Regions from separate parts of the Homo sapiens genome. Here region 2 is linked to region 1. Evidence: promoter capture Hi-C in human tissues and cell types (Jung and others, 2019). All regions are on one chromosome and are shown on one strand. The core of a region is centred on a gene start or on the middle of the fragment in contact, and the rest is flanking DNA. Distances in the headings are between cores, read along the strand shown.

Region 1 (7,185 bases), core at 1,654-4,153:
CAGCAAAGGTCTCTTAAACACATGGGGGAATAGCCTCCATGGACTCTTGAGATTAACTTCTGCAGTTCATTTTTAATTCACTCATGAATGTAATATCTAGTCACAAAGGTGTAAACAGAAAGGTAAAAGTATATAAATGTATAAGATGATCATTTGAACACTTTCCTTTTAAATTCCTTATCCCCTAGGAATTAATGTAATATTTGAAATAAATTCTGAAATGATTCCCTAGCTGATTTAACACCTGGAAACTTGCTTGTAGGTTCATAAGTGGCAGAAAGACTGTGGCCCTAAAGGAGTTCATCTCTCAGAATTTAGAATATAGACCCTACACCAGGAACCCATAAAGAGTTGCCCTCTGGTATTCACAGACATAGTATATGCACCTTGGACCATTTCCAAACTCAAAGATCCAGACCTGCTAGGGATTTTGGGTTTTGCCAAGGCATTATACCGTATTAAGAGGCTAACATAGTACATCATGGTGACTATAGTTAATAATGATATGTTGCATACGTGAAAATTGCTGAGAGAGTAGATTTTGTGTTCTCACTACAAAAAGAAAGGTAAGTAGCTGAGGTAATGCATATGTTAAATAATTTGATTTAGCCGTTCCACAATGTATACATATATTAAAACATGCTATACACCATAAATATATACAATTTTTACATGTCAACTAAATTTTTACTTTGTATTAAAAAAGGCTAATGGGGGGTAACTGCAGCTAATGAATAAACATCCAATAGGTCCAGCATTCCCATGTCAAGTGTCCTCTGCCTGTCATCCTTTATACAATAATTCTAATGAAATGCTAGATGGAATGGGACATACCACTCAAGAATACCACAGATGATCACCCTTAAGATATTATAAGATGGGCAGAGAGCACAGACTTCCACTCTTAACTCTTGCCTGGCTGATCACAAATCATATCCCAGCCCAGGTCCAGGGACCTACTTGCTTCCTTACAAACGAGGAGACCCTGGTTCTAAGACTTTTGCTGAGAGCAGAAATAACCTCCCCCATCCTCCTGCTCCTTAAACAAAAGAACCTTTAGGGCAATTGTCTAAAAGGAAACAACATACCAGAAATACAATTCCTGGGTTAAAGCAAGCAAAGCTGCTTTTCTAATAACTCCCATTTTCTATGCATACCCTGGGTCCAGCATTCCATCTTCCAGGTATGGTTAGAAAAGAGATCAGACCTTAGTGACTGCTGGTGAAGTGAATTGCATGCTGCAGCCCCTCATCAGCATCTTTGTACAGCTCAGTTTCGTGTTTTCTGCAGAATCAGGAGCTGACAATCAAAATGGCCCCTCACTCACATTCATTGGTCAGACTGGGCTTGTGATAACAATTTAGACTAATCACTGACAAGCAGGGATGGGGAGCACTGAAGTCAGCTATTGGCTGTGTCCCGGAGCAGTTGGGCATTCTGCCACTGGATGCTGCTTTTGTAATCTTGTCATATGACAAAGCATTATGATGTTCTTTTGTTTTCCTTGGATTGGCTTAAGGGCTGGTGAGAAGCAGGAAATATTCTGCCATGGGAAGTCTACTGACCTGCAAAAATTTATCAAAATACACAGAAGCAGGAATGGAAGGTGGAAAAATTACAAACTGTGATAATCAGCTCCAAGAGCATGTAGGGGTAAAAGGAGGTAGGTAATACCTCTCCTTACTCATTGTAAGAGTCATGGCTGACACTCCTATAACAAAAGACAAGTTAACAAGAGAAAAGCATAACAAATTTACTTAATCAAAGTTTTATGTGATATGAGAGCCTTCAGAAATGAAGACCCAAAGATCCAGGGAAAACTGTTTTTGTGCTTAGGTTCCATGAAGAATGGGCAGCTCTGTAGAGATGTGTTTGGACAAGAGTATGATCTAATGGTAATAGACTGGGTTCAAATTCTTCTTGGACTCTCTGTGTAGCATTTCTTCTTTGCAAGTATGGGGCAGGATTCCTCTGGATTAAGGGTCTTCAAATGAGAAGGGAGAAGGGAGAGAGTGACCTTCCTAAGTTTTATGGCTTGCTTTGGGGAAAGGGCTTCTAGTTTCTATCATTGTCTTGCGGAAGAGGAATTCTAGTTTCCATGGTTCACTCCAGGGGAGAAAGAAGCATGAAAGACAAGAGGGCAGGAGAAGGTCAAAGAGATCTTTCTTCGGAGGCCCTTCCAATGTCTTTCAGTTCAAAGTACTCAGCACACCGAGGCGCTATACTTTGGGCATCATGTTCTGAGAGCCAACAGCTACAGTGAAGAAGTATGAGAGCAGTCACTGAGTAGGGAGGGAGCTTTCAACTAACTTAGAGGAGCAGGGCCTGACCCTAGCAAGCATTCCTGGGGCCTCCCGATTGCCATATGGGGCAGTACTTATGTGTGGGACAGTGATATGAGGAGCTACACTCAGGAAGCTTCCTGATCTCAATTTTTATTATGATTTGTTTCTGATTTGGGATCTTCCTAACTGAATTAAAGAACTTATATTAATTTCTAGCTTAATTCAGGCAGGAGTTAGTCCAAGTATCATTCGACAAACTTTATTAATCTTTTAAAAGTGCCTTGGCTTTGGGTTTAGACCTATTTCAACCTCACCTCCACCACTTAGTATCTCTACAGTGTTGGGAAAAATCACCTAACCTCTGTGACCCTAAGATATTCCTACATAAAACCTGGGAATAATAAATTATACCTCACAGAAGATTAAATGTGTTTCCTTACAAGCATTATGGTAGACCAGATATACACAGAACAAAAAGCCTGTGTATCACAATGAAAAATGCTATATAATCTGCAAAACATATTTTTTAAATGCACAGCTGCATTTATAAGAGAGTAAGGAATTCCCTGAAGTCCAGAAATGACAGGAAAGTGAAAATCCACCAGAATAAGCATGTGTTCATTTGTGTTGGTGATCTACATCACTTTCTCATGGACTACATTACATTATGAAGGAGATGGAAGACAAAGTCTGGGGCCTGCACGTGGTACATTGTATCATAGAACTCACATAAAACCAGGACCCATTCAGAGGTTAAACTGGAGAACAAACTCCTTGCAGACGTAAATGATGGGGCTACACATGCCTGTTTTTGGCTTTGGCCCTAAGTAAAGCAGGGAGGAAAAAAAGTCATTGATAATTTCTAATCTTAAGTGGAGAAGCATGATTGTTTTGGGCTGAAATTCTCACTATCCATGCGGCAAGAAAAAAAAAAAAAAACCTCAAGTAGAAAATTTCATTTTAAGCAATTCTGGCTTGGTAGTGCTCCCATGCACCTAACAAAAGCAAATAAAAACACCCCTCAAAGGGAAACACTTTTTACATAGTTCTCAAAGAATTTCCAAGTTTGATAAAGTTCCAAGGAATATCAGGTCATAATACAAAATCAAAGAATACACACAAATAAATAAGCCACAATGTGCAAAAGTTGCCAGATAATAAACGATAAGCCAGAGCAACAAAACTGCAGATATTGTAATTGAATAGAGAATAAAAAAGAATGTATTTAGTACACTTTGGGAGGCCGAGGCAGGTGTATCACTGAGGACAGGAGTTAGAGACCAGCCTGGCCAACATGGTAGAACCCGGTTTCTACTAAAAATACAAAAATTAGCAAGGCATAGTGGCGGGCATCTGTAATCCCAGCCACTTGGGAGTCTAAGGCAGGAGAATGGCTTAAACCTGGCAGGTAGAGGTTGCAGTGAGCCGAGATCGCACCACTGCACTCCAGCCTGGGCAACAGAGTAACTCTGTCTCAATAAAAAAAAAAAGAATGTATTAGTGTATTTAGTAAATTTCAAGATAAAGAAAGAAAAAATTAAGTTTTAACAAAGGAATAGGCCGGGCGCAGTGCCTCATGCCTGTAATCCCAGCACTTTGGGAGGCTGAGGTGAGCAGATTGCCTGAGGTCAGGAGTTCAAGACCAGCCTGGCCAACATGGTGAAAACCCATCTCCACTAAAAATACAAAAATTAGCCAGGTGTGGTGATGGGTGCCTGTAATCTCAGCTACTCAGGAGGCTGAGGCAGGAGAATCTCTTGAACCCAAGAGACAGAGGTTGCAGTGAGCTGAGATCATGCCACTACACTCTAGCCTGGGTGACAGGTCGAGACTCCATCTCAAAAAATAAATAAATAAATAAATAAATAAATAAATAAATAAAGGAACAATAGTGTATTAAATTTGATTAGGCATATTTGCACAAGAACCAAACAAAACTTAGAAATATAAAAACTAAAATAATAGAAATTAGAAACTCAAAGGATTTGTTGAAAAGTAATTTATACACAGCTGAAAAGCATTTATTGATTTAGAAGACAGATTCGAAGAAACTACTCAGAATGCAGCACAGAAAAACAGTGAGATGGAAAATCAACAGAGATATTCAGGGACATGGAGAACAAAGTGAGGAAGTTAAAATGCATGTGATCAGAGTTGCAGAAGAACAAATAAAAGGGAATGGAGGAAAGGCAATAGTTGAAGAGACAATGACCGAAATTTTCGGAATTAATGAAAAATGCTAATCCTCAAATACATGAATTTCACAAAAGATCACCCAAGCAGATGTCACCTAAAAACATAGTAGTATCTTTTAAGTGCCTTTGAGGCAGAAAGATTTTTAAAACGACAAAAAACAGAAGAAATATCTGTGAAGGAATTGGTATTAGGTTAAGCTCAGACTTCTCAATAGCAACCAAAACACAGTGGGAAATAGTTTCAAAATGCCAAGAGAAAATAATTGTCAGCCTATAATTTGACTTTTTAACCCTTTTTATTTGAAATGATTTTAGACTTAAAGTTGTAAAAATGGTGCCCAGAATTCCCATATACCCTTTACGCAGCTTCCCATCATGTTAACACCTTACATAAACATAGAATAATCTTTAAGACAGGAAACTAACAGTGACAACATATAATCAACTAATCTACAAGTCTTGTTCAAATTTTACCAGTTGTCCCACTAATATTCTTTTTCTAGTTCAACATCCAACCTGGGATCTTCCCCAAAATGACCTTTGTTCACAGTGTCATAATTCACCCTGCAACACAAGCTCTGCTCAACTAGAGTTTGATGAATAAAATGATTTTCTCTTTGCCATGGTCCCTTTATATGAATATCTCATAAAGCATAAAGGTCAGGGTGGTTCCTGTTAGAATATTCACTTCCCTTGATTTCCTGCCAAATATCATTTCACAACCCTCCTGAGCTCCCTCTTGATTATAAAGGGAAAGACATTGACTCCAGTCTGACGCAATAAACAGAAGAGTTTTTGATGACCCTGCACCTTCTTTTCTTCTGATTTATGTGGAACATACCAGCAACAAAATCCTGAACCAAGATCCACCAGGGGATGGACAGGTGTCCTAGGTATGCCCAAGAATGATGCAACATCCCCAGCCATGCGCATGATGGCTGAGGAATCTGGGGACAGCTATTGTGTGGAAAGAAAATCTTACAAAGGGAAATCCTCATAGGAAATTGCGTAGGTTGGAGAAAGAGCCACACTCAGTCAGGCTTAGCCTGTCTTTTCTCTCCTTTGGTCTCCCAGAGGGAGCTGTTATATTCTAATAGCCTGCTGCATTGTTTTTTTCTAAAGAGAATTCTAGGAAATTGACATCAGGGTCTCCAAGACTACCCCTAGATTTGATGATTCACTGGAAAGATGAGCAGGATTCAACATATGGTCATACTCACAGCTAAGCCTTATTATAACAAAAGTATACAGAGCAAAATTAGCACAGACAAAAAGTGCATGGGGCCAAGTCCAAAGAAAATCAGGTATAGGTTTCCAAGAGGGCCGGTAGAGTCATCAGGTTGTGCTTAATTCCTCCAGCATCAAATTGTGACAACACATGTGAAGCCAGTTAGACTGTGTGCCCAAGGGTTTTACTGGGGACTGATCATGTATGCACCCTCTGCCTAGCATGTACCAAAATTCCAGACTTCGAGAAGGAAAGCAAGTGTTAGCATAAACTCCATCATTTGCATAAACAGTCTTAGCATAGTAAGCCACCCATATCATTTATAGAATAGCTAGAAAACTTAAAAATCCAAGTTCCCTGATGTTAGCCAAGGGCCAACCTTGCAAGCAAGTCTTTCTAAAGATAACAGTTTCAAACTTGCCATGCTAACTCTGCATGGTCCATCCCCTTAGTCCTTAGCAAGGCAACTTTATAGTAAAATTATTATTTCTAGGATCTCTGTCAGTATTGATCTCAGTTTTTTCCAATACATTCAGTATTTATCCTCTTTTAAGGATCCTGAATTTAGCCAGCTTAAACAAATCTGATTAATTATAAAGGTCTATCTTAGAAGTCCAGAGAGCTTCCTCCGTACATGTCTATATTAAACTTTTAACCTGGTGGCACATCACAGCTGAGGCCAGGAAAGTAAAGTGGACCTGATCACCTTCCTGGGCTGAGACAGTGTCATGACAGTCAGGTACACACAGACACAAAGCACAATCCCAGAGGACATGCATGGCAGCCCAAGCGGGACATGCCTTAGGCAGTACAGGTTTACAACCCCCACCATGTGGCCTTCCATGGTGAGGCCTACCACCGTAAGGTTTCCATCCCAGTCCAAAAAATACACTGAAGTCCTTGCTTTCAGAGGAACTGCCTTCAAGCTATCAGTTCCAAACACAGGAGTGAGGAAGACATCTGAGGTTTTCTGGATGGAAAGTTCCAGAGTGGATCCCCACCTCCAACCCCAGTGCTGTCTGTTGTGCTCAGAGGCTCAGCAATCTGAATTCAAAGCATTAAGTAGGAGTTTGGAAAGACAGCGTGGGAAGATTTCCGTCAGACAGAAGGGAAATCTTCCAGGAACAGTTCTGAAAAACAAAAAGATTGTTAATGACTTCCTCTCCTTTATGCCTCCCTGGGGGCTGAGTTTCTATTTTTTTCCATTGCGACAAAGTCAGAGAGTCCTATTCAGCAATCATATATTTTTGTTCAGTTATATCCCATTCTCACGCAGATCTTTCAACTGGAAAAAGTGTATACAAAAAGGACAAAAGGACTTTCACCAAAAAAACATTTTCATGCAATTTAAGCATAAAGAGGTATCATGCTCACATTGTCTGCTACTGAACAAAACTGGGGTCCACTTGCCCAGCCCAGTAAAGCCAAACACCCACAGTGGGGTTTTGCAACAAGAGAAAGGAGGGCATTTGTTTGC
Region 2 (7,185 bases), core at 3,122-5,621, 48 kb after region 1:
GGTGCCACCACACCCAGCTAATTTTTGTATTTTCAGTAGAGACAGGGTTTTGCCATGTTGGCCAGCATGGTCTCGAACCCCTGACCTCAGGTGATCCGCCCATCTTGGCCTCCCACAGTGCTGGGATTACAGGTGTGAATCACCGCGCCTGGCCGAAAAAAATTCTTAAACTCTACTTAGCACCATTCTGGAGGTGTTTTGTTAATTTTGTTATTCAGAGACGGTTGTTGGTGTATTATATAATAGATCACATGAATAATTAAACTGGCATCACTTAGAAAAGGAATGTTTAGTTTGGGAGGAAAAATATGTACGTAAGATTTTTTATGTTAAGTAAAAAAATCCAGTGTACCTGGGTTTGTAAGATTCATGTCATATTTTATCTTCAAAATATATACACAGTATCCATGTCATCTTCCTGGTTTTAATATTGTACTACAGCTATATAAGATGTCACTATTTGGGGAATTTGGATGAAAAGTACACAGGATCTTTTCTGAAATTTCTTGTGTCTATAGTTGTTTCAAAATATGCCTGAAATGTAAAAAAAAAAAAAAAATGAGCTAATAAAAATTCTAGTAGTACTTGAATAGGTTGCAGTAAACCAAACTGTGGGTCAAGGTGGGCTGAGTGATATCATGGGCTGAGAGGTCTCTTGAAGTTTCATGAGAAGATATGTAAATCATCAAATCATTTGCAACGAAGAATTTCTGGAGTCCAAGTCCTCTCTCCATGGATGCGACTGGAAGTAGTTTAGGAAAAATCTCAGAAGCCAAGAAAATAGTTTTCATACAGTGGTCAGAACACTGAGAATTACATTCCTCAGAAAATAGGCTATAGCTAAAAATATCTTTGTGATTGAATACATTCAAAAGAGTATATAACATGTAATTAGCAGAGATATTCCAATTGTTAAATGTTAAATTATAAATTAAAAAGAGAAATATCTAGAAACCTGACTTTTATAATTAAATGAAAAACGTGAGGAAAATCAAAGATGCAGGAACATGGAAATGGATTGATCGATTCAGTCAAGCCTTTGGTTTTTATGATTCTAGCATGAAAGCATCTTGTGTGTCTTTCATGTCACTACAATGCCTTCATTTAACTATGATTACCAAAAAACAAGTACAGTAGCAACTTCTGCAGTACAAACTGATGGAAAGGACTGCTGAGGAGACAGAGAAGCCCAAGGAAGTAGTACCACCTAGGGGCTGAATTTGTTTCTAACAAGAAATCAGCTTTTCATTAGGTAACCAGATCACTAGATCCTATTCTACCTGGCCATTAGCAAGCTGATAAGAGATTTTAGACTACAAGAGATGACCCTGGAAAAGACAGGGGAAATTTCTATGGAGCCCATTCCTTAATAAGTTGTGATTGGATATTTGAGACCCTTCAGCAGAAATGGCTTAGCATTTGTCCATATTATCATATTATAATTTTTAAAAAATACACTCAGAATAACATTCTTTTTCCATATCATCCTGTGAATGAAGAAGAGACTAAGGAATTCATTACCCATTGTGTAGGTGAGGAAACAAGGCATTGAGTCGTAAAATACTGAATCTGGGCCTCACAGAACAGGAAGTGGGTCCAGGGATTGAGTCCCATATCTCTCAGTCAGAGAATTTCAGACATACAATAGACATTAGGGATAATTGAGGCCCTGGTTCCCGGCTCAGGGCGCAGGTCTACATCAAAATCACCTGAAGATTTCTTTCTTTTTTTTTTTTTTTTTTTTTTTGAGATGGAGTTTCACTCTTGTTGCCCAGGCTGGAGTGCAATGAAATGGCACGATCTCGGCTCACCACAACCTCCACCTCCCGGGTTCAAGCGATTCTCCTGCCTCAGCCTCCCGAGTAGCTGGGATTACAGGCATGTGCCACCACGCCCGGCTAATTATGTATTTTTAGTAGAGACGGGGTTTCTCCATGTTAGTCAGGCTGGTCTCGAACTCCCAACCTCAGGTGATCCGCCCGTCTTGTCCTCCCAAAATGCTGGGATTACAGGCGTGAGCCACTGTGCCCAGGCTGAAGATTTCTTTTTAATACTGAGCCAGAGGCCTGTACCTAAGTATATGTTCAATTGTTCTGGAATGGGCATAGTTAGCATTATTTTTGAGATTTACCTGGCTGATTCTAATGTGCAGTGAGGGTTGAGATCTGCCAACCTATTCCAAATGACTTCTCAGCTGAGGAAATTGAGATTCATAGAGGTGAAGCAGTTTATCATAACTGGTCAGTCCCTTGCAGAGCCCAGCTTAGACTCCTGGGAATGAACTCACAACCTAGTGCTGAAATTTCATTTTCTAAATGTTTGATCCTCTCTGGTTCCCATTTTCTTTTTTATCTGTAAACACACACACACACGCGCGCGATTGGCTTTTCTTTCCTTAATGCTGTTCTATCCTGTGTCCCTCATGGGTTTGTTTAGCCCAAAGAGACACTAAGCAAGATTCTGAATACCTAATCAGCCTGGGCCATAGCCCCGTAGAACCAAGACTGCTGCCAAATTCACAGCAATGGCAAGATAAACTTTTTGTTCATATCTCTGCATGCTATCTAGTGCATTGGCAAATTGAAAACCCATTTTTTCCCATAAGAATTCCAAAGACATCTTGCTCCCCAAAAGATGTTTTCTAATTCATCTGTTTCAGCATTTGCTTATGGCCTGATCATGTATCTGAGTGCAAGACAAAACCTGTCCTATTAATTCAGAAATTCTTATTTGTGTAGAACTTTCTAACTAGTTGTTGAACTCTCTGTGGAAGCTTACAGAATTGGTGAGAGCTGACATGGGAGATGAGTCTGGCAGGGAGTTGAGCAGAAACTGTTTAGATCTGGCAGTGTGCCCAGTTAAGTGTTTCCAAAAGGAAAATACTCTTGCACCTGCTCCTCTTCTGCTTCTTATGTTAAAAGACAAAGTAGGTAGGTTTTTTTAAAGGAAACATTGTTTTTATATATTGTTATGATTATTTGAGACAGGGGCTCACTCTGTTGCCCAGGCTGGAGTGCAGTGGTGTGACCATGGCTCACTGCAGCCTCTACCTCCTGGGCTCAAGTGAGCCTCCCACCTCAGCCTCCTGAGTAGCTGAGACCACAGACACACACCACCACACCCAGCTTTTTTTTTCAGTTTTTTTGTAGAGTTGGGGTCTCCCTATGTTGTCCAGGCTGGTCTACAATTCCTGGGCTCAAGTGATCCTCCCGCCTTGCCTTCCAAAATACTGGGACTTACAGGCCTGAGCCAATGCACCCGGACAACAATTTTTTATTTTTTATTTATTTATTTTTTTAGACGGAGTCTCGCTCTGTCACCAGACTGGAGTACAGTGGTGTGATCTCGGCTCACTGCAACCTCTGCCTCCCAGGTTCAAGCAATTCCCCTGCCTCAGCCTCTCGAGTAGGTGGGACTACAGGTGCACACCACCACACCCAGCTAATTTTTTGTATTTTAGTAGAGAGGGGGTTTCACCATGTTGGCCACGATGGTCTCCATCTCCTGACCTTGTCATCCGCCCACCTTGGCCTCCCAAAGTGCTGGGACTACAGGCATGAGCCACCGCACCCAGCCAAGAATCATTATTTTTAACTTGATGACTGAAAATAATAATAATAATAGTTACCACTTATTTGCATGCTTCTATGTGCCAGGTAGTTGCTAACTATTTAAACTCAAATTCCATGAACTGTAGTGGAGGTTGTACTGGAATTTGATTCAGAATGACAGTGTCCATGATGGAGCAATAGAGGGCTCTCTATTTCAAACCATACCTCCTTGCTTTTACCTCCTGCCTAAGTCATCAGGGGTTAGAAGGCTTTCTAGGTATTGGTCTCTTTCCTTCATTCCTAAACCAGATTGGTTGCTTATTTCCGTCAAGCTGAAACCAAAAGTAAGCAACCAAAAAGCAACCAGCAACCAAAAGCCTTGTTACTCAATTAATTAAGAGTAGATTTTTATATTTGATAGTAGGTTCCTTCTAAATATAGAAACTGAAAATAGAGCTATCTCCTTCAATTCTCCTTTTTCTGTGTATTCATCCAGAATCCAGCCACCAACTGCCACAATAGGCAGCAATGGACTGATGTTCTTTAGGGAGGACGTGAATCTCGTTCCAAATGCTGGCCAGTCATTGGGTTTCTGCAGCACTAGAAACATCTATGGTTGCAGGTCTGCAGTTTATCTGTTTTAAAATAGAAACAAAGTTTCATTCCCCACCCCCCCCCGTCAGCAGGAATTCCGCTAGCTTTAGTTTCACTTTCCCCTTTCGGTTTCCCTAGGTTTCCAACTTGCAAGGACACACCCACAGCTTACACCATTGGCTGCTGTTTAGCTCCCTTATATAACACTGTCTTGGGGTTTAAACGTAACTGAAAATCCACAAGACAGAATAGCCAGATCTCAGAGGAGCCTGGCTAAGCAAAACCCTGCAGAACGGCTGCCTAATTTACAGCAACCATGAGGTAAGGATTTCTTTGCTCCTCTGCCATAATGTCTAAAGTTTTTGAAAAAATGGTAATTAAATACTATTTCAACAGGTTAGATCTCAGTGAGGTCAGGTTTTCTAATTCCTCGATTTGAGTATCTGCTTATGGACTGAATGTGTGCATGCATGTGTGTGCACGTTCACACATACATAAATTGTTTAATGCATTTTTATGTTTGTTAGCATGAACTTGAGGAAGCTTACCTCATGCTATAGCCCAAAGAAGGGGAGGGAAATGGGAAAAGAGTTTTGCAGGAAGGGAGAAAATGATCCCAATCTGAGAGATTCTTTCCCATCAGATTCACTTCTGTCTGATATGGGGAAGGAATGGACAGCTTGTCTGAGTAGAGGCATTGCTTTCTGCAGGTTCTTTACCACAGAGAAAAAGCAGGACCCACAAGAATGTGAAAGCCTCAGTCTTGCAGCCTCTCTGATGTCTTGTGGGTAATACAGTGGAGATGTGGTAGGAAAAGCTCACAGCCTTCCTCCATAGGCTTCTGGTCTCACTTTCTGCACTGCTGGCCTCTTACAACAGGTTTTCGCAATCAGGCTGAGCTTAAGATAAACAGATTGCCTCCTCCCTGGAAAATCTAGGCTCTTGGTACGTCCTTGACTGAAGATGATCCACATCTGCTTGGGAAGATCCGTATCTTCCTTACCTAAAGGGCCTAATGTGGGAATTTCTCAGCTGATTTAAAAACCATTACTTAGGCCGGGCAAGGGGGCTCATGCTTGTAATCCCAGCACTTTGGGAGGCCAAGGTGAGCAGATCGCCTGAGGTCAGGAGTTGGAGCCCATCCTGGCCAACATGGTGAAACCCCATCTCTACTAAAAATACAAAAATTTGGGCATGGTGGCACATGCCTGTAGTCCCAGCTACTTGGGAGGCTGAGGCAGGAGAATCACTTGAACCTGGGAGGCGTAAGTTGCAGTGAGCTGAGATTGTACCACTGCACTCCAGCCTGGGCAACAGAGCGAGACTCCGTCTCAAAAACAAACAAACAAACAAAAAATCCATTACTTAATACTGATTTGTAAATTTTCCCCTCAGTGCTCCAGTTGGCAAAATTTTGAAGAGGTAAAAATTCCAGAAAATGCACATTACAGGCCTATGATGAACCCTCCTCTGTAAACAGATGGAGTTGGTACTGATAATTAAAATAATAATAATATTAAATGTTATAAAGGTAGTTATCACTTCTTGAATTCGTATTAAGTGACAGCCTGGCTTCTAAAAGTGTTATGTAAATTATTCCATTTAATTCTCAAAAGATACTTATAAGGCAGGTACTTACACAGTCATGCATCGTGTAACAATGGGGATACACTCTGAGAAATGCAGCTGTTAGGCAATTTCATCATTATGCAAACATCAAACCTAGACGGTATAGCCTACTACACACCTAGGCTATAAACCTGTGCAGCATGTTACTGTACTGAATACTGTAGGCAACTGCAATACAATGGCAAGTATTTGTTTATCTAAACATATTTAAACATAGAGTACAGCAAAATTGTGGCATTAAAATCTTATAGGACCACCACCAAATATGTGGTCCTTTGTGGACTAAAATATCATTATGCAGTGCATGGCTGTATGATCCTGATTTTACAATAAGGAATCTTAGATTTAGAAATGTTAAGATCACACAGACAATAAGTGGTAGCTTTGAGATATGGATCAGGATCTCTACATTCAATGATATTTCATTAAACCTTTAAATCAATGTTTCCCAAAGGGTGTCAGTGGGGGCTCATGTGATTATTTCAGATGGCAAACTCATTTGCTTTTATGTTTTCCTGCTTTTATGTTTATGTCAATATGTACTACAGGAAAATATATATATATATATATATATATATATATATATATATATATATATATATAAAACTTGAATTTTATTCAGGTTAGCAATGTGATTTTTTATTGTGATAAAATACATGTAAAATAAAATTTATCATTTTAATTACTTTAAAGTATACAATTTAGTAGTATTTAGTATATTCATGATACTACTGTGCAATCATCATCACTATCTAGTTCAAGAACATTTTTCTCGCTATGTGGAGAAACTGCATAGCCATTAAGCAGTCACTCCCTACTTGCCTCTTTCCCCAGGCCCCAGCAACTGTTAATCTGCTTTCTGTCTCTATGGATTTGCCTATTGTGGGTATTTCATATAAATGGAAACACATACTATGTGGTTATATTGAATTTTTATAATTTTATATTTCCTAAGCATCCCTTTTTGAATATTAAGTTGGACTTTCTCATTCCAGAAGCAGGGCTCAGTCACCCTTGAGACAATTTCTAGTTCTCCACCTTTTTCCAGTTCCTCAATGTGATTGATCCAGATATCTGCTTTATATAACTACCTCCTGGTGACCACTTCCCTATAGCATAGCAGGGTATGACCTATTTGACTTGCCCCCACTGACCCCACCCCCACCCCACATGGACCAGGCAGATGTGCTGCAGTGACCACCTCTCAGTCACAGCATGACCCCTTGGCAAAATTGCACCTGCTTGCTCTAAACCCACCAAATAGAACTCTCCACAGGAAACCCACCTAGGTAACGCCCTGGCCTCCCATAAAGGCTTGGGCCCACATTCCCCACTCGCTGGTTGAGCAGGCATGTCCTCAATGGCTCCCCCTTTCCCATTGGCCCTGCAAGGCATATTACCCTCTTCTCTC

The links. Contacts are between HindIII fragments. The study calls those that stand out against the background at their distance.
Region 2: the fragment with the promoter of IFIT1 here is called in contact with a fragment that was not itself captured in region 1 in 1 of the 25 tissues and cell types used here (hippocampus).

Annotation. Positions count from the first base shown.
Region 1 is chr10:89,341,404-89,348,588 of GRCh38, forward strand. It overlaps a transcript of LIPA not described here. Among named protein-coding and RNA genes, the nearest start is that of IFIT3, 17 kb to the left of the region's middle. The HindIII fragment of the contact is 4,561 bases long and covers 624-5,184 here.
Region 2 is chr10:89,388,252-89,395,436 of GRCh38, forward strand. It overlaps IFIT1 (interferon induced protein with tetratricopeptide repeats 1), which reads left to right and starts at 4,372. Exons shown (of 2, transcript NM_001548.5): 1 at 4,372-4,466. The coding sequence starts at 4,462. It also overlaps a transcript of LIPA not described here. RefSeq lists a silencer at 3,207-3,368 and enhancers at 3,921-3,970, 4,201-4,250, 5,052-5,101. The HindIII fragment of the contact is 7,368 bases long and covers 587-7,185 here.